Regions from separate parts of the Homo sapiens genome. Here region 2 is linked to region 1. Evidence: promoter capture Hi-C in 16 types of primary human blood cells and fetal thymus (Javierre and others, 2016). All regions are on one chromosome and are shown on one strand. Each heading gives the region's core, a stretch centred on a gene start or on the middle of the fragment in contact. The rest is flanking DNA. Distances are from core to core; before and after follow the strand shown. Region 1 holds the start of PP12613 (a long non-coding RNA gene). Region 2 overlaps QRFPR (pyroglutamylated RFamide peptide receptor).

The links. The method cuts DNA at HindIII sites, captures the fragments that hold promoters and counts their contacts. A CHiCAGO score of 5 or more calls a contact.
Region 2: a fragment that was not itself captured here is called in contact with the fragment with the promoter of PP12613 in region 1 in 4 of 17 cell types (M1 macrophages, M2 macrophages, endothelial precursors and 1 more); the score reaches 8.2 in M1 macrophages.

Annotation. Positions count from the first base shown.
Region 1 is chr4:121,762,025-121,767,403 of GRCh38, forward strand. PP12613 (a long non-coding RNA gene) reads left to right here and starts at 2,561. Exons shown (of 1, transcript NR_024365.1): 1 at 2,561-4,784. SMIM43 (small integral membrane protein 43) reads right to left here and starts at 3,140. Exons shown (of 6, transcript NM_001384332.1): 1 at 2,793-3,140; 2 at 1,740-1,848; 3 at 703-774. The coding sequence starts at 3,081. The coding sequence ends at 2,890. The HindIII fragment of the contact is 5,910 bases long and covers 1,751-5,379 here.
Region 2 is chr4:121,368,666-121,373,944 of GRCh38, forward strand. All of the region lies in intron 1 of QRFPR (pyroglutamylated RFamide peptide receptor), which reads right to left. It also overlaps the pseudogene KIAA1191P1. Among named protein-coding and RNA genes, the nearest start is that of QRFPR, 9.7 kb to the right of the region's middle. The HindIII fragment of the contact is 874 bases long and covers 1,330-2,203 here.

The DNA of each region.
Region 1 (5,379 bases), core at 1,311-3,810:
AAAACCTTTTTATTGAAAATAAAACACAGGAATCTTCTATAATCAAGTTACATTTATATAATAAGCAGTTATGTTAAATGTTCTTGACTTTTCAAGTGCTTTAATGTCTAGCTCATATATATACAGTCTTTAAAAATAGATTTGGCACATAGTGATTGTCAGAACAGGGGATCGTCAGGGGATGGAGTAGCCAACATGTAGAAGCCTGCAACCTAGACCATTGTGGGTGTCAGAGTATTTGATCTAAGCCAAAAATGCATAAAGGTGGCCAAAATTGTGAGTTTGAAAGTAGTTCTAATTTGAGAGATCAGTCTATGTCAGGTCTTGGAAAAATGATGATTGAATAAATAAATAAACAGCAAAAGACAGCTCATCTACAGCTGTCAAAGTTTCAAAAGCAGAGTCTCTAACAAAGCAAGTGCAGGGCAGGAGATCAACAGCAGCAAGATCTAAGAGCAAATGTGAGTTACCTTAATTCCCAGAGCTTAGAGTCAAGTTCCAAGCAGAGGTTGAGTAATAGGAATAAATATTCATTGTGGCCTGGATAAATGGGAACTTGGTCATTAATGAATTTGATTACAAGGAGTTAATAAAATGGCCCTGGATACAAGATAGAAAGGCACCCCTGCTTTCTTAGGAACCTGAGTCAGTAGAACCAGCTGAGAGATTGGATTAATACTGAGATGGTAATAAACTACTCACCCTGACTTTTCAATAGTCTCTTGTTTAGGAAGAATGATGGGCAGGTTAAATTCATGGATACCAGTGGTGCTGCTAGGAAGATTAAAGGATTGTAAACTCAAGAAGGCAAGCATGTGGTTAAAATAATTTCCATTCTGGTTATTCTAAAGTGTGAAATGATTGTTTTCAATCCTTACAAACAACTATAATTGCTAATTAATTACTCCCACACTCATCTTCAATGTCCATATTAACCATACAACCTTTTAACTAAATGCCACTGCAGAGATATCAACCAATTAGAGAACTATTGTTCAAAGCACAATACAGAATCACTGCAGTTGATTCAGGGAGTTCAAACTGGGAATTCAAATCAAGTCTTACCATAACTCTGATAAAGAGGTGAGGATTTGCTCATACCATAATAATTAAAGTAAACCTCTTACTTCATTAAGAACAGGCCTATTTGGGGAGAGTGAAATAGAAAGTGGGAAATTATCTAATGTCTTGGGCCAAAATTATTCACCTGAGACTATTTTTCCTTTGAAGCATTAAAATAATTGTCTTACACTTCACTTTTATATTATCAACTTAGGCAAACTTTAGTATTTCATTGTTTTTAGCCTCTCTATATGGTCTTTGTGTCTAAAATTAGTATTTTCAATACTATAGTTATGACTTAGCTTATCCCACACTGACATGACTAAACCCAAATCTTCCCTTACTGAAGATTGAGTATATCTGCATCACATATTTCACCCCATGAACCCCCGCACTGTTTTTCAAAAGGGCCGAATGATTATTAAAAGTGCAAACACTCCTGACATCTCATTCAAATTTCCACAATCCTCTACTAAGACACTGATTCTTGCAATGAGTTAGGAGTCAGTTTGGCTTTGTGGATCTGGTAGAAGCTCACCAGATTTGAGTGGGAGAGTGCCCTTTCCTTCCTTGTACCCATTTCCCCCATCCTGAACCAACATGTTTTTAGGCCCTGGATCTTTAGAAGTTTAGTCATAACTAAGGCCAACGTGAAACCATGCGTCATCCCAACTTACCATTTGCAGAAAGCTTCCATCTCCCGTTGTTCCAGCCTTCTTTTTGCAGGCCCAAACTGTCATTGCAGCTGTGGTCCCCTGAGCACCAGTCAAGGGCAGCAGCTCGGCTCTAGAAAGAGAGATGACATAAATCTAGGGAAAAGCTACTGAAGGATGAAGATATTTCCCAAACTAACATTAGCGAGAGGGTACTTAGGGCATACTGGTACTCGAGTTTGCTCCTGCCCGCCCATCTTCTGCAAAAGCTCTAGTAATTTAACCTGAAACCACAGACCCGCCTCTCCGTCCTTTTTCCTGTTTCCCTACACTATGCAAACAGTACCTCTTTTAGCTGGCCCTCCATGCCATCACCCAAAAGGTCACGTACCGGCCAACCCTAAGGCATCTTCCAAATGACTCTCACTGTAACGTTCACCATCCGCTGTCCCAGATTCGAAACCTACCCTGCACGGCAATCCGCAAGCACTAACCGTGGTTGGTGGCTAGAATATGAGTAAGGATCACCGGGAGGAAGGGATTCCTCCCTCCAAATGGACGACTGAATCTTCTCTCCCCCACGCCCCACCCCAGCACCACCAGACGAACCCCATTTACCATCTCTCAAAGCGCAAAAATATTTAAAGCAATATTTAAAATACTTTAAGTGCGCCCCGTTTCCTCCTGCCACCCGTCCCAAAGCCCACACAGTCTTTCTCAAAAATGTGGATATTCAGGTTAACCTGCGATTTTGTTCGAAAGTGGCTAAACTGCATTATCCGAATAATTTACTTTTCCACTCCTTGGGTATAACTAAAATGCAGTTGGACAGAAAAGAGCTTGCAGTTGTCCAAAGTCATTCCGGCTCCAAAGGGCGAATTCTCTTTTCGCCATCTCTCCCAGCCCTGGAACAGCTTAGGGTCCCTCTCGAAGAGCACAGCGCCAGCCCAGACCCCATACACCCACCGTCCCTGGCACCCGAACGCGCTGCGAGCCCCGGGCCTCCCACAGGAGCGGAGACGCGGGTCCCTGCGCCTCACGCCGGAACGGACCCGTCAGAGCCGCCGAGCCCCGCACCTGGAAGCTGGGAGGCCGCGAGGACGGAGAATCGAGGCGGAGACCCAGCCCAGCGCCCGCGCAGCTCGGTGCCCTCCCGCCAGTGCCCGCACTCGGGTCACACCGCTTGCTCTCGGGAGAAGCCCCAAGGCTCGCGGTGCACCGAGAGGCGCCCGGGCTGGAGCGCCCCGGCCGTGTTGGCCACGGAGTTCTTCAGCTGCTTGATGACCACGAAGAGCAGGAGGAAAAGTAAGAAGAGCAGGAAGAAGAAGAGCGCCAGGTAGAGCAGCAAGTTGAGTTCCCACTCCATGCTGGAGGCGCCGGCGCTCGCTGGCCCTGCGCGCTCGGCGCGGGCTGCAGCTGGAGGGCGAGCGCGCCGCCCGCACACCCACCTCCCGCACTCCCGCCCCTCGCGAGGGCGTCCCGCTATGGGCGCCGACTCCGGGGTCCGTGCTTTGCCTCCCCCGGCTCCGAGGAAACGCGCCAAGGAGCTGAGGAAATCCGGCGCAGACTCTCCCAGCTGGCACCAAAGCCTTCCGCTTCGCCGAGATCCTCTCAGGTGCTCTTGAGGACGCGAGCGACTTCCCTAGGAGCGAACTTCCGCGGGCACGGACGCCAGAAGAGGTAACAGCTCAGTCTTCCAGGGGAGGTCGGGACTGGTGTTTTGTAAATGATTTAAAAGTTCCACCCCCAACATCCAGTAGGGTCCCTAGCTCCGCTGCGTTCCCAATTAATTTATTTCGTTATATCCCTCCGTTCCTGCTTTCCGAAAGGACAGGGGATGTCATGGCCCAGAGACCCAAAAGAATGAAAGGTGGCAGTGAAGATGGGGTCTGAAAGGCTATGAGATGATTTCGTGCTATGAGGTGTCTGAGTGAATTCCAGTTCGAGCTGTCTTGCTCTTCAGAGTAGCAGATACATTCAGTGTTGAGTGTACTTTTCTATGGACAACAGGTCACTTGGAAACGCATTAAGAATACAATGTATTTCAGAAGTTATATAGCACAAAGATTTCAAATATTGGCCTCAAATTCAGTTTATTTGGTGAAAAGAGGAAAACAAGTTTACTCAAAGTGTTTCTTGAGTCCCTAAAGCCTTTCTGTATCTGGTTGACGTGACCCAAAGCCCATATCGCGCAGCTTTAAAAGCTGTTCAGTGTATCTATTACTGCAGAACAAATTACCCCCAAATTTAGTGGCTTCAAACAGCATAAACATTGATCATCTCTCACAGTTTCTGTGGGTCCGAAATGTGGGAGCACTGGCTGGGTGATTCTGGTGTCGGGTTACTCATGAGGCTCCGTTCAGATGTCAGCCAGGTCTGCCTTCAGCTGAATGCTTGTGTAGAGGTGGAGGATCCACTTCCAGGGTGGCTCACTCACTGCTTGCCAGGTAGGGCTGGTTGTTGGTGGGAGGCCTCAGTTCCCTTCCATGGGTGCTTCCAATACAGCTGCGGGATTCCCCCAGAACAAGTGATGAAAGAAAACAAAGCAGAGGCTGCAGTGCTCTTTACCGCCAGCTTCAGAAGTCACGTGCCATCAGATCTGTAATATCCTACTGGTCACACAGGTCAGCCCTATTCAGGGTAGGAGTCCAAGGACACGAACGCCAAGGAGTAAGGATCACTGGGGCTCATCTTAGAGTCGGCTATGACAGCTGTTAATACAGCCAGCTATCATTGCCCATTTGTAGGCCTAACTTTATTTTATTCTTTATTTGTGAAGATGCAGAATTGCCTCCTGGACTGAATTCTGGGGATGAGGGCTGACAACATCCCAGATTGTAATAAGTGGCTGCTCCAGGGATGACAGGGGTTCAAAGAGACAGGGTGGTATGAAAACAGTCTGTGAACTGCAAGTCTCATGGACCCGATTCTAGTGTCAGCTCTGTCAGTGGTCACTTTTGCTCAGTGACTCTCAGTCCCCTCATCTGTAACATGCCTTGCTTATCTTTCCCTTGGATTTGTTGTGAGGCTCAAAAATGAGAAAATGTTAAATAAAAATGTGTTTTGCTATATAAATGTCAGATACTGTTATTATTCTATTACGAAGGGCCCCCAATGCTACAAGCTATTGTACAAAATTTCCAGGCCCTAGGCCTCTCCATCAAGCATCTTAGTGCATAAGTGAGAAGAATCTTTCTTTCATTTTCTCTTTGTCTCTCTCTCAATAACATTATATTGATCCACTTCATAGGCAGTGGTATGCTGGAGCTGGCTCGTAATGACTCACAGGAGCTGATTGTTAAATTTTGTAAACCAATTTTTAAATTCCAGCTATTATTAAAAGTTAAATTATATAAACCTACAATTATGTTAACAACAAAGGTAATTAATACTCCAAACTCATCACTTTCTAATTATTTTATTAGGTTGGTAAAAAGGCAATCACGGTTTTTGTCATTAAAAGCAAAAACCGTGATTGCTTTTGCACCAACCTCAGTACTACATTTCACTGCTGTCTATGCACTTGAGGTTATTTACATCTGTTGTAGCTGTGTGGTGAAGATGCTGCATAGTGGTATGTTACTGCGCATCTCTTCCCAGCTGTGTTCAGTGCTGTCATGTTGGTAGCTTGAAATTAGCCATGATGAGTGGGTTTGCCTTGAGA
Region 2 (5,279 bases), core at 517-3,016, 390 kb before region 1:
ATAAGGCTGGAGCACAGCACCAGCCATCAACAGGGCCAGAGTCGTCTCAGCCAGTCAGTGAGCACCTCTACGCCATGATTTGTCAATGCTCACATGGATAGTGGTAAGGAATCAAGAAGCCTGGGTTTTGGAACAGCACAAACATTCTTTACCTAGTAAGCAGTGATTGAAGTTCTTACCTAGGGTAAATGATGAAAAAATAGGTAATGAGGTCCCCATACACCACTGCTGAGAATATTTAGTCTAACTTTAAAGCAGTACAAAATGGCTTCTTCCACACAACAGGGGCAAGCTTTGTATCAATATTTCTCAAAAACCAATTGTATCTCCAGCTCTAGCCTCAATTTAACAGGTTTTTTACTTTATTTATTTATTTATTTAGAGACGGAGTCTCACTCTGTCGCCCAGGCTGGAGTGTAATGGCGTGATCTCGGCTCACTGCAACCTCTGCCTCTTGGGTTCAGGCAATTCTCCTGCCTCAGCCTCCCAAGTAGCTGGGACTATAGGCACCCACCACCATGCCCGGCTAATTTTTGTATTTTTAGTAGAGACAGGGTTTCATTGTGTTGGCCAGGCTGGTCTTTAACTCCTGACCTCAGGTGATCCACCTAACTTGGCCTCCCAAAGTGTTGGGATTACAGGCGTGAGCCACTGTGCCCAGCTGATTAAGTTTTTAAATATACCTTTCCTATGTCAAAGCCAAGATAAAAGGGCAGTGGAGTGCAAGAAACCTTCTTTACCAGAATCCCTGGAAAGAAAGGGCTCTAGAAGCCAGTGGGTGTGAGCACATTCAAGTCACGGGGTTTGAGATTATGTGCCCGTGGTGGCTGTTTCCTCCCTTCCGTCACTGGGAAGTCCATCTTGGGTGGCTTCAAGGCTGCTGGATCTTCAGCCATTCGGTTGGCCTGGGCACGGATCAGTTCCATTGGAGAGGGCTTCTGGGCTCCTCGGTAGGCCTGGGTGGCAAAACTTCCAGAATCATACTTCTGAAGGGATCTCAGTCCAAAGAGGCCCCACTTATCTGACAAGTTTCTGTCCTTATCCCCACTTCCAGAGTCCATGGTGCTAGGATTTGGGCCAGGTAAGGCTGTGGAAGAACCAGAAGTGAACCAGCCCCTGGGTCTCTGCTTAGGTGAAAAGTGAGAAGTGGTGCTTGGGGTGGACAGGGCTGATGCAGGTGGCCTCTCTTCTTTTGTTATCTCTCCACTCTGCAGCTTTAGTTTGTGGAGTGCTTCTGCTACTCTAAGGTACTTGGTCTTCTGAGTGGTGACACCCTTGTGGGTGTGTAGCCAGGATCTCTCAGCCCTGCCTGTTGCCCAAAATGCTGAAAGCTTTCCTGGGTCTGTTTTGTGATCACATAATTCATGACGACATGGGTAGCTTTAGCCTTCACCACTGGGAGCTTGTCCACACTGTCAATGGCCGATGACAGGGACTGGCAGGGGAGGGTAGACTGGCCTCTCCTTCCTCCACCTTGGTGAGGTGCTGATACTTGTGCTCTGAAATCACTGGCTTCCAAGGGATGCTGCCCATGTCTGATGGAGGAGGAGTCATGGGTGCAGGGTCCTTGAGGGTATCATCATAGCTGAGTGCCCGGCGGTATATCCTGAAGGGCAGGGACATCTTGCCTAGAGGCCCACTAGCCTCAAGAGCAGGCACTTCTGGTTGTCTTGAAGCCATTGAAAGGCTGAGATCCAGGTGTTTTTTCTATATAGAATCCCTGCCACCACGGTGAAATGATGTGACGACTAAGCTGACAGATGGATGTTAATGAGGAACATGGTCCAGCTGCTGCAAATTAGCAAAACTTCCCAGGAAGAGTCCATCCAGAGGTTCTGCTATCCTGCTGCCGCGGGACTGCCTGTGGCCGGGAGTCCGGCACTAAAAAGATTCCAAGGGCCTACATCCCCAAGAGGCTGTGGCGCATCTGGACCCAAGCCATGGTGAGAGTGGCAGTGACTTCAAAGGTCTCCAGGACTCACTAGGCAACACTACCCGACGTTTACAGATTTTAAATGCATCTCAATCCCACAGGAAATTTTTTTAAAACGTTAACATATTTTCATACATGTATTAAAGGGGACTTTAAAATGAGATTGCATAAATGAAAATATGTAAATACTATATGCTTCATAGAGAAATCAAATGGGAAGTAAGAAGAACTAGATATGCATTATATGCATTAATATTTTTGTGAAAATAAAGCTTGATCTAAAACCTGTATCTTTGTCATATTTTCTGCCACCACATCAACCACTGGGGGGCAGCATCAAACATTATTTTATAACTTCTCTCCTTGGTCTTCTAATAGGGGAAGCTTTAATGCCAGGCCATGTAACTTATAATCTAGTTAATACAAACACTAATAAAGGATGGAACAGGATTAGAACCCAATATTGTTTGATTCCACAATCCATGTTTGTTTTCACAGCATCTAACTGTTTCTCTATCCTTCTATTTCTCCCAGGATGTAGGAACATGCTGTCTTTTAAGATTTCTATTACCCTGAATAGCCTACAATCTCTCTGATATGACAGTAAATGTGTTTCTCCAAAACCAAGCTACAGGTAGGACTAATTTAGTTTTGCAAAGACAGATAAAAACAATAAGCACTTACTTAATTACTTCGGAATTCATCCTTAAGAATCTTTAGTTTTAAGGCATAAAATGAAACAAATAGTATAGCTTCTGCTGAATTTTTCTTAAAGGCACAGACTGAGAGGGAACTGCCAATATCAACTTCTAGAACCCCGTTCACTGACCTTTCAATAATTCCTTAGCAGAGGGAGAAGGCATATGTCCACTACTAGAAGGAATTGGCAGCCTGGAAGTTGGTCCACTGGGGAGTATATATCAATAAATGAGATGGGAGCAGCAGAGGGAGATCCCAGCACTCCATCCCAGACCAGGAAAGGCAGACAAGGAAGAGCCACTCAGAACTCTGGTTCAGCTTGGTCCTGAGAAACCTAGTGCAGGGCTTGGCCTTATGGGAAGACATATGATCGGGGAGCTTTAGTCCCTGTAAGTTGACTCACTCCACTAGACATAAATGGCCAACTCTGCTAAACATATCTACCCTGAGTACCTTCCTATGGAAGAACTTCATGCTAAGCAGTCAAGCCTTTCCAAGGGGCTTAGTGGCTAACAGGGTCCCAAGTGTCACTACTACAGTTGTTAGCTTGTCACACTTCCATTGATTCAGTTAGTAAGGAGACAATGAGCATCAATGGATTCAGGAAGTTTATTACTTGCACAGATGCCAAAGGCAAGATCAACACAGGAAGACACTGAGCCTTGAAGAGCAAGATGACTGACAGTATGGGCAATGGGTTGCCCTGCTGGGGAGGAGCAACCCTTAAACCACGGCCAAGAAATTGTACAGACTTACACAAAAGACTGTAGCTGAACCTTAAGTGGGAGCAAGGTGGGGAGAAAGGAGGGAAGTCTTACACTCAACGGAAACCAAACGGGAGATAGATAAGAGAAGGTCAGTCTCCCACAAGACAGGGATAAGAAACTGCCTCACAGTGGCTCCTCAATAGGCTTTTCTTCCTGCTGTAGGGGGTATCTCTGGGTGTTTGAATAGGAGTGACGATGGCGCTCCCTGAGGTGCGTGATTAGTTCTATGGGTAAGACAGCAAGGCCAAACTGGCTAGAATCCTTCCAGAATTTTCTGCAACTACCGGGAAGTATTCTCTCTCATTTCCTGAGATAAAAAGTTTTATTTTTTGTTCTAGAATTTTTTATTGTGGTAGAATATATCTAACATAAAATTTATGATTTTAGCCATTTTTAAGTGTATGATTCAGTGGCATTAATCACATTCACAGTGTCGTGCAATGAACACCACTATCTGTTTCAAAAACTTTTTCATAACCCCAAACAGAAATCTAAGCATTAAGCAATAACTCCCCACTCTGCCCTCCCCATAGCCCCTGGTAACATTAGTACCTTTTCTGTCTCTATGACTTTGCTTATTCTAAATAGTTCATGTAAGTAGAATCACACAACATTTGTCCTCTTGTGTCTGGCTTATTTAACTGAGCATAATGCTTTCAAAGTTCATCCATGTTGTAGTAAGTATCAGAACTTCATTCCCTTTCATGCCTGAGTGATATTCCACTGTGTGTATACACAGCATATTTTGTATATCCATTTGTCCATCGATGGACACTTGGTTTGAGACAGGGAGTTTTAAAGAAAATGTAAGCTTATAGCTCCTGGGGTCATCTTTCACACTTGGGCAAAAGACAGCTCTAGAATGAAACCACAACACAGAGGGAAGTGGAGCTGGCCGCCGAGGGGGAGGATGATCACTGTTGAAGACCTTAATCCAGTTATGCCTAAAACCAGCCCTAACTCTGACCTTTTCAGTTGCAGAGGTAGAATATTCCCTTTTTTTTCTTAAGGTAATTTAAGTTGGGCTTCTCTTCCCACAAACAAGAATCCTAATAAATCAACAACTTATCAAAGAATAGTTATGTTTTAGAAAAGCAAACTAAAAGGGAATTCATTTTATGCCTCCTAAGTGCACAGTGAAATATTTAAAACTTTCTTACTGCTAAATCCTTGTCATTATTTTAAATGTAAACTGTTCTTGTCCTAAGTAGAGAGAATCTTTTACATAAATGCTGTTGCTGTTACTGCCACTCTCTCACCTACCAAAAAAATTTAGTGACCTACAGCATCTTTTCTTCTCAAAGTGTGCACGTAATTGATTCTAGGAAAGATCAACCAGAGGCTGTCCACAGCATAATTCCTGACTTTATTTCCAAACTACTGTTGCTGTTGGACCTCTGTTTAATTTACATCTTTTTTAATACTTCCTTATTTTAAAAAGACTATTCTTCATCAATAGCTTTTATCATTTCTGTTGACTTTTTAAGCCCCACAATACTGTTGATTTTACACCAATCTTACCATATGTAAATTTCCCCAAGAACTCTAAAATTTCTGAAATATCATAGAAAAAAATTATATAACACATGTAACTGATGTTTTCTAGTCACTGATTGAATAATAAAATGGGACCGAAGAAGTTCCAGGTTAAGCTCTCTGTTCTGAATTGGCCCTCAAAATTAAGATCTTTTCACTAAATGAAGTTCAACAACCTCCTTTAATTCATTTCACAATGTATCAGCTCTCAATCTCTAAAAACACACCCTAACATTTCATGTTGTGTACAGTGAGTGCTTTCTTTCTCTCCCTCCTTTCCTTCCAGTTAAATCCTTTCATTTTTCATATAAAGTCATGCAAAATTCTAATTCTTAAAAAGAGAG